Regions from separate parts of the Homo sapiens genome. Here region 1 is linked to region 2. The links are contacts of gene promoters, found by promoter capture Hi-C in blood cells and fetal thymus (Javierre and others, 2016). All regions are on one chromosome and are shown on one strand. Each heading gives the region's core, a stretch centred on a gene start or on the middle of the fragment in contact. The rest is flanking DNA. Distances are from core to core; before and after follow the strand shown.

Evidence for each region. The method cuts DNA at HindIII sites, captures the fragments that hold promoters and counts their contacts. A CHiCAGO score of 5 or more calls a contact.
Region 1: the fragment with the promoter of VPS45 here is called in contact with a fragment that was not itself captured in region 2 in 1 of 17 cell types (fetal thymus); the score reaches 7.0 in fetal thymus.

The regions. Positions count from the first base shown.
Region 1 is chr1:150,064,734-150,069,143 of GRCh38, forward strand. It overlaps VPS45 (vacuolar protein sorting 45 homolog), which reads left to right and starts at 3,043. Exons shown (of 15, transcript NM_007259.5): 1 at 3,043-3,217; 2 at 3,897-4,031. The coding sequence starts at 3,125. It also overlaps a transcript of OTUD7B not described here. RefSeq lists a silencer at 2,220-2,459 and an enhancer at 2,670-2,999. The HindIII fragment of the contact is 1,692 bases long and covers 1,670-3,361 here.
Region 2 is chr1:151,002,020-151,006,287 of GRCh38, forward strand. It overlaps MINDY1 (MINDY lysine 48 deubiquitinase 1), which reads right to left. Exons shown (of 10, transcript NM_001376665.1): 2 at 146-687. The coding sequence starts at 598. Among named protein-coding and RNA genes, the nearest start is that of MINDY1, 2.7 kb to the right of the region's middle. RefSeq lists an enhancer at 4,119-4,268. The HindIII fragment of the contact is 1,608 bases long and covers 1,522-3,129 here.

The sequences.
Region 1 (4,410 bases), core at 1,793-4,292, 940 kb before region 2:
CAGTTTCATTGAATTTCATCTTTACTTCCTTCCTATCCATGGCTTATGAGAGAAGTGTTAACATGAAGCAACAAGGATTATAGTAAATAGAGAATTAATAATCTAAAATAACTGAGTTGGCCATATTGTTATTATAATTATGCTGAAGCTTATTTACATATTCTTTGTTTTGTGTTGAAGCCTTGAGCTCTGGTGGGGGAAAATCATGATTTTGATTAAACACAAAATGGGCAGTTAAACCTCTAAATAGTATACATGGAGAAAGCTGAAGTACATTTAATTATTTAGATAATCATTCCTGATTATTTAACTTACATATTTACAAGCCTAAATAAAATGTACAAATGTAAATAGTGCTTTTTTTTTTGGAGACAGGTCTCACTCTGTCACCCAGGCTGCAGTGCAGTGGCACACTGTAACCTCAACCTCCTGGGCTCAGGTGATCCTCCCATCTCAGCCTCCCAAGTAGCTGGGACTGGAGGCGCTGGCCACCATGCCCAACTAATTTTTTGTATTTTTTTGTACAGACAGAGTTTCATCATATTGTCTAAGCTGGTCTTGAACTTCTGGACTCAAACGATTGGCCTCGCCTTGGCCTTCCAAAGTGTTGGGATTACAGGAGTAAGCCACGTGCCTGACCAATACTGCATTTTTTGACTTCCTGTTTTCTATCCTTAAAGCACTGATTTCTTGGACCCAGTGAAAACAAATTTTTCAAGTTGAAGATTTTAAGTTAATGTAGTCATTCATATTTGAAGGATGTCATGATTTATTTTTTAAATTTAATGTCTTTACTATTGAAAATATTTCTTGTTATTATAGTTTACTTATACCCTAAATTAAAAATAAGTAGGCACTTCATATTCTGGATTTGCTGTCACTTGCCTGCAACAAAACAAGTAACTGGGTTTATCCTGGATGAGTCACAAAGCAAGAGCTTGGATTTTATCATTGGTTTCAGTTCTATTTTTAGAGGTATGGGGATACAAAAGAAGTTCTTAATTTGGAGACATTTAAAATGGCTTGTGTGGTTTTCTTCAGGAAGGAAGGATGCTGTCTAACTTCAGGACCATCACAGCACCCTTTAAATATGTAATAATTATTTTGTTCAAAATGTTTATGTTCCATATCTTATCGCTCAATGTATAAAATATCACTGCCACTGACATCAATGAAATTTTATGTGAAATGGAATGAGTTAGTAAGTGTCAAGTAGGTATTTTCCTCGTCCCTCAAAAAGTTATGTGCCCAAGTATAAATCATCAAAAGGATAAAGATTCTTTCCATCTATTGCTTACAGACTGACTATTGTTTAAAAAGGCACGAATTTCATAGACAAGTCTTTATCTCCTTCTTTCTTAAAAAAGCACAGAAAATGGGGAAAAATCTTCTATACTGCAATCTAAATTATAGGTAAGAAAAATAAAAACCAAGTGACATAGGAGATTGGCAGTGAATTTTCAAATATCAGTAATTTACAGGATTTACAGGATTTTCATTAGCGTTGTTTCCATGTTTTCTGTAAGATACGAACATTTAAATTGATAAGAATGGAATGTTCATATAACATTTCTTGTATCCATTTAAAGATTCACATTTTCACTTTAATATATAACTTAAGACTTTTCTTTCAAAACACATCTAAAAATTAGTAAAATGCCTAAAGGGAAGCTTTATTTACTTGGTAGAAAAGCTGAAAGAAAAAAAACATATTCTTCACAATTTCAGAGGTGACAAAAATCTCTTATATTTCAGTAGTTTCTGATCTCCCTTAAGGGATTTGAGAATTATATATAATATTGCATAATCTTAAGCTGATTAATGTTAAAGTGCTATTGGTCTATTTTAACTGTGTACTTCTTAAAATATAATGAAAGAATTTATTTGGTAATCCTGAATCTATTGACCTCACAAACACTGGTCATTATTTTGGTGGAAATATTCATAAGCATTTTTAGTTACTGATTTCTAACAATTGTTTCTTATTATCTTCCTGATTTTACAATTCCCCAAAGTAAAGGTGCGAAAAACAAACATCTACCCTCCTTTTCGACAAATGCCATGATAGAGGGGAGACCTGTGTGGTGTAAAGACAAATGCAGACATTTGGAAGTTGATGGTTTTAAGATTCAGTAAAAACTTGAGAGTTTTGGCTTCAAATCCCCACGCTAGTTTTAGTTCTACCGGATACGTGTCCCCTACCCATTTCAAAGGACCCAGTCACCTCGGCTCTTGCCTGAGTTTCAGAGTCCCGCCGGAGTTAGAGCTGGCAGAGTCCAATTGCTCAGAGCGCCGAGGCGGGGGCGGGGCAGGGGGACGCTTGCAGGTCCGGTGGTCCCGCGGGCTGCGAGCCCCCACGGCCGACCCTAGCTGCAGACCCTCCTGGAGAACCTCAGGCCTTTCCCCCAGAAACATCCCTAAAAGGCGTTCCCTTTGTTCATTCATTCAACAAATATTTGTTCAATCTCATATGCCCCTCTGTCTTGGGAAAACCAATTAGGGCCTCTGCAGCCTCAACACAGGGGCACTGTTCCCGCCTATTAATGACGCAATGAACCCGGGAAGACGAATCTCGACCACTGTTTCGCAAATACCGCGTGTGATTTATTAAATGCCGTCTCTCCGAGTCCCAAGCGGCCGGGAGCATTATGCCACCTCCCTTGCCCTCATCTCTCACTGCCATGCAAGAAAGCGTTAATGGCAAATAGGGCACGTAGCCACACTCCGTCGTTCCTGCTTCCAAGCAAACCTTGTGCCAGGTTCCTCATTTCGCGAGGCTCCACTCTCTTGGGCTTCAGGCTGCCGCTGGGCCTCCAGCACCAAAGGGCAATAGGGGTCTGAGAGTCCGGGCCTCAGGCATCTTCAGGCCGCAGGTGGGTGGAGAATAACGCCCGCGCGTGGCAGCGGCCCAGGCCGTCTCAGCCGGATTTTTCCATCCCCGGGGTAGGCTTGGTCCCCTGTACACTCCAGCGGAACTACAACTCCCAGCACCGTGGCTGCCCGGACTCCCGGAAGCCGAATCCCGGCTGGGAGGAAGCAGCTGAGACCCGGCCAACAGACTGGGGGTTAATTTAGCCAGAAAAGGGGGCGGGAAGGGCTGTAGGGTACTTGTCAATTCGCCGCCATGAACGTGGTTTTTGCTGTGAAGCAGTACATTTCCAAAATGATAGAGGACAGCGGGCCTGGTATGAAAGTACTTCTCATGGATAAAGAGACGGTGAGTTTGCTTTTGCTCAGCATTTGTGAAGGAACCCTCTCAACCTTACAATTGCTCGTCCCATTCCACTGTAGGACTTAGCATTTAATTAAACATACGAAAATGAGGGTCGGTTTGTGTGGAATTGAAAAGTTGTTTATATAAAGCTTGCCCGGTGGGTTTTCAGTCTACATGGCTCCAGCCACTGCCTAGAGACTACTTCTACCCGGAACAATTTATTGGAATCAGAAATCCTTTTCTAAATGTCCCCGCCAAGAAATCATTAATATGTCAGAGCACTTGGAAGGCTTTGGGATGGGCCTACTGTTTCCACTCAACATTGTGTTTTTAAAGTAAAGCTGTTGGAGCTCAAGCTGAAATGACAGATTATTTGTTGGCCACAGACCAGAAAACAAAACTCTTTAAGGTGATAGAAAAAAATATTTTTGGAAACTTATGGATTGTTCCTGTTCAAAGAGACCATGTTTTTTGTTTTTAATCTTGAAGCTTCAGCTGAAAGGATAGAGCGTATTTTTCATTCTCGTATGTTACCTACCTGTTTGGATGTTCAGTAAATGTTTTCCGTATATTACTATTTAAGTTATCCAGCTAAGTATTAATGAAAAAAGAGGGTTAGATGTGCTACTTGTTTTTATTATTCTAGACTAGCATACTTTTAGTTAATCTTTTGTTTTTACAGACTGGCATAGTGAGTATGGTATACACACAATCGGAGATTCTACAGAAGGAAGTGTACCTCTTTGAACGCATTGATTCTCAAAATCGAGAGATCATGAAACACCTGAAGGCAATTTGTTTTCTTCGACCTACAAAGGTACTGCATAAACTGAGCTTCCATCTGCCCAGGCAGATGCAGAACACTCTGATCTGAAAGCATTAAGAAGGCAAAATAAATTTGTATTATCATAATTTGTGGCATCATAATTATCCTGGTTCATCAGTGTTATAACCTTCATTTTTCTTGTTTTGTTTCCATATTTCAGTTGACCCCTTACAGCCAGTTCTTCCTTCAAGATGTTTTTTAGGTTCACAGCCATTCCCATTGCCACTAATGAACTACTCTTAACGGAGACCCACATTACTTTATTCCTGGATTAACCTCCGTATCTGTCACATTGAACACCATCAACACTTAATTTTATATACAGCTATGAGTGTCTTGAATCTTTGCCACTTTATTCACATTTATGCTC
Region 2 (4,268 bases), core at 1,076-3,575:
TTATCTCATTTGCTCAAGCTGGAGAAATAGGGAGAACAATCTGAAAAGTTTTGACTAGTTTGAGGACATCAGGATGATCAAGGAAGTAAGTCAGGGAAGAGTACTCCCTGATATTTTTTGCACCCCTAACTGCATGTTCTCTTACCTTCCACTGAAGAAAGAGGATGTTCATGATGGCAAGGAGAGGGCAAGGGCCGTTAGTGCTCTGGGTGATGATGGGTGTCTGTTCTCCTTTCCAAGGGATCCACTTGACACAGTAGAAATCTGGCTCAGGCTGTCGGGTCCTGGGGGACTGAGGAAGCTCCTGGGGCATGGAGCATGCCCTTATTGTCTCTACTTCAGGCAGTGTCCCAAGGGTTGGCCCCGGTGGAGCTGAGCTAGCTTCAGGCAGAGGGGACTCAAGGTTGTCCCCACACTGGCTAGGCAGCAAAGCTTGGTCTGCTGGCTCCCGTTCTCTAGCCTCCCCATCAGCATCTCTTGCATCTGTGTCCTGAGGGTGCTCATCTGGGCCTGCCAGAACCTCATGGTTTTCAGGGATGACTGCTTCTGCAGTCCCGGCCTTACCAGGGGCTGGATCCTCAGGCTGATGGTATTCCATGGTCAAAAGGGACTTGGCTGAGGGGCACTGAAGGTGTTTACTAACCTCAGGGACTTGCCTAAGCCAGGCTTGGGATGCAAAAGAGTGACCTGTCCAATAAGAAGGAAATCAGTGGGCTGGAAAGCAAACTAACCCAGAAAAGTCTTGGAAAAGGAATGTAGTGTAGAAGGCTGGCTAGTGTTTGTGCAGTAACTCCTGGCTATGGGCAGTATATGTGTAAACAGAAGGGCCCCGTGCTGAGCTCTTTCCACCTCTAACTTGCTGTGACCAGATGAGACCAAGAGGTCGTGGGGCTTCCAGACTTGGGAGGGAAGACTGGTGGGATTGAACACATGGGTGGAGTCAGCTTCCCTGAAACAGATCATGACAGGGAAGGGAGGAAAGACAGAGAGAAAGGGAGAGCACAAAGGAGAAAGAAGGATAAGAGGTGGAGAAAGAAATGTTAAATCTACGCTAATGGTTATTAATATGATGATCTTTAGCTTACTCTAATAGGCATCACATCAGTAACCCCCTCATAGCCATGACAGAGATAATTCCTCTGCCCTACCCCACACCCTGCCCCTTCACACAACATACTAAGAATACACAGTGCTTGTATGTTTAGGGATACCTTCTCTCTGCCTCACCCAAGGATAAAAAGATTAAGTCACATAGTACTTGGGGTGAAGAATGGAGGAGGCACAGAGAGTCAGTTTCATGCCCCTAAAGGTGAAATGCTGGTGAGGAAGGGGAAGTCTTCCACCTCAAAGGGCTCTACTGAACCTTACACAATCCCAAACCACAGTATAAAGGCCTTGGGAGGGGTTTCCTGTAAGCTGGGAGGGGAAATGTAGGTGGTGGGGGCTGGAATCAGAGACTGGTTTTGATAAATAACTTCAGATTAGGGGCACAAAAAGCACTCCCCACAAGTTCTTCCAGTAAGCTTCTCTTTAAAAAAAATTAATAAAGATATCAAATTTCTTTTAATTAAACTGAGACAGGGTCTTGCTTTGTTGCCTAGGCTGGTCTTAACTCCTGGGGGCCCAAGCAATCCGCCCTCCTCAGCCTGCCAAAGGACTGGGATTACAGGCATGAGCCACGGTGCCTGGACCCAGTAAGCATCTCTTGACAGCTAGCATTGAGACAGCAACTTTTCCTCAGTTCATTTTTTTTCCCCAGAAACTACCTAAACCCAGAGGTACTCTCTTGCCTGCTATTTCTATGAAATATGAAAATGCTGATTATTAATTTACATAACAATACTTCCTGTACATTCACCTACCTAAAGTTTTATGTCTATTCCCATCCAAGTGGTTTTATTTATTTATTTTTATTTTTTTGAGACAGAGTTTTGCTCTTGTTGCCTAGGTTGGAGTGCAATGGTGCGACCTCGGCTCACTGCAACCTCTGCCTCCTGGGTTCAAGTGATTCTCCTGCCTCAGCCTCCCGAGTAGCTGGGATTACAGGCATGCAACACCATGCCCAGCTAATTTTGTATTTTTTAGTAGAGATGGAGTTTCTCCATGTTGGTCAGGCTGGTCTTGAACTTCCGACCTCAGGTGATCCTCCCACCTTGGCCTCCCAAAGTGCTGGGATTACAGGCATGAGCCACCGTGCCCAGTCCTCTCCAGGTCATTTTAGATGTGAACACCGGACCTGTTTAACCTGTTCTCTATCAGCACTGGAGGCACATTGAGGCAAGCACAGATAGACATTTAACTAATACTGTGGGTATAAATAATAAAAAACCACAAATCCTGCCCTTTGGAAAACATCTCCCTTCAATCTCCTTGCTCCCCTCCCACTCTTTATCAGGGAGAGAAACAGGGAGAAATTAAACTAGTTAGGGGCCAGGCGCGGTGGCTCACGCCTGTAATCCCAGCACTTTGAGAGGCTGAGGCGGGCAGATTACTTGAGGTCAGGAGATCGAGACCATCCTGGCTAACATGGCAAAACGCTGTCTGTATTGAAAGTACAAAAATTAGCCAGGTGTGTTGGCACGTGCCTGTAGTCACAGCTGCTCGGGAGGCTGAGGTGGGAGAATTGCTTGAACCTGGGAGGCAGGGGGTTGCAGTGAGCTGAGATGGTGACACTGCACTACAGCCTGGGTGACAGAGCGAAACTCCATCTCAAAAATAAAATAAAATAAAATAAAATAAAATAAAATAAAATAAAATAAAATAAAATAAATTAAACTAGTTAGAAATCTTGTCTTTTCTCCACCCTCCTCCCAGCCTGAGACTGCTTCCTTCTTGTAAACCTACAGGAATTTGGGGCTAGGGGAAGGCCTGGGAGATGAGGTTGAGGAACATTAAAGTTACTGAAACAAAATAAGCCTAGTCACTCAAATTGATTATCCTCTTGATTCACATATGTTTATGCTAGCTGCATATCATTTACGTGTTGTTAATTTAGAATCAGAGTAGCAAAAATTGCCTGCAGGCCTTATGCTTTTTTTTCTCTCTCTTTCTCTCTCTCCTTTCCTTCTCCCCTTAAATGACACTTAGGGTGAACCTCAAAGCAGATGCCAGAGCCTGGAAAAGTGAAAAAGCTTGAAGAAAAGCAGGCCTTGGCCGGGCACAGTGCCTCACACCTGTATCCCAGCACTTTGAGAGGCCGAGGCGGGCGGATCACCTGAGGTCAGGAGCTCAAGATCGGCCTGGCTAACATGGCGAAACCCCATCTCTACTAAAAATACAAAAATTAGCCGGGCACGGTGGCGGGCACCTGTAATCCCAGCTACTCAGGAGGCTGAGGCAGGAGAATTGCTTGAACCCCGGAGGTGGAGGTTGCAGTAAGCCAAGATTGTGCCTCTGCACTCCAGCCTGGGTGACAAGAGTGAGACTCTTGCCTCCAAAAAAAAAAAGAAAAAAAGAAAAAAAAAAAAGAAAAGCAGGCCTTATTTTTTATATTTTCTCTCCAGTGCCAGAAATGATCAATGATGAAGTGGGGGTTGGGCAGCTAGCTGGCTGGAGAGGTGAGCCAAAGGAACCCAGGAGTGGACACCTGAGGGAGTGGGGTCTCAGAGGAACTGGGCAGAGCTAAATGGGCTAAGTCTTAAGAGGCAGGGGCAGGAAATGTAATGGAGGCTTTCTACTCTACAACGTCCAATCCTGCTGGGGAGGGCATGGAGTATTTCAGAGTAGGAAAGAATGAGGGAGAGGATAGTCAGATAAATCAAAGTTTCATTCTTTTCCTCCTCTTTCTTAGCTCGTCAAATCCTACACTTTCTCTCCAGCTGGAATTATGGTGGTGAGTGAGGGAGTTAAAATAATCCTGGCTCCTCCCTAATCAATGGCAGTAGAGAGCCGAAAGTTGGAAGAAGCACGTAAAACAGGTATGTAGCTTCAAGAAGACACTCCTTCTCTGTAGGAACAGTTCCCTTACTGTCTCACACCAATCTCCTTCTTAGTCTGACCTATGTCTTTGTGCAATCAATAGTTTAGATTTTCATCTCAGAATATGTCAACCATGGCCACAGTGCCCTGTATACTTGCTCACAAGGAGAGGGGGAAGGTTTCGTGCTTTCATTAAAAGGAGGAGGACCAAGCAGCATCCCCTTTACATGTCTCTCCTGACTTAGCTCCTCTAAGCAATCCAGACTTGCAGACCAAAGGTGGAAGGACAGCAGGTGTCAGCTCCCCAAAGCTGGAGAGGAAATAGAGAAGGGTGGGAGAAGAGGTGAAGA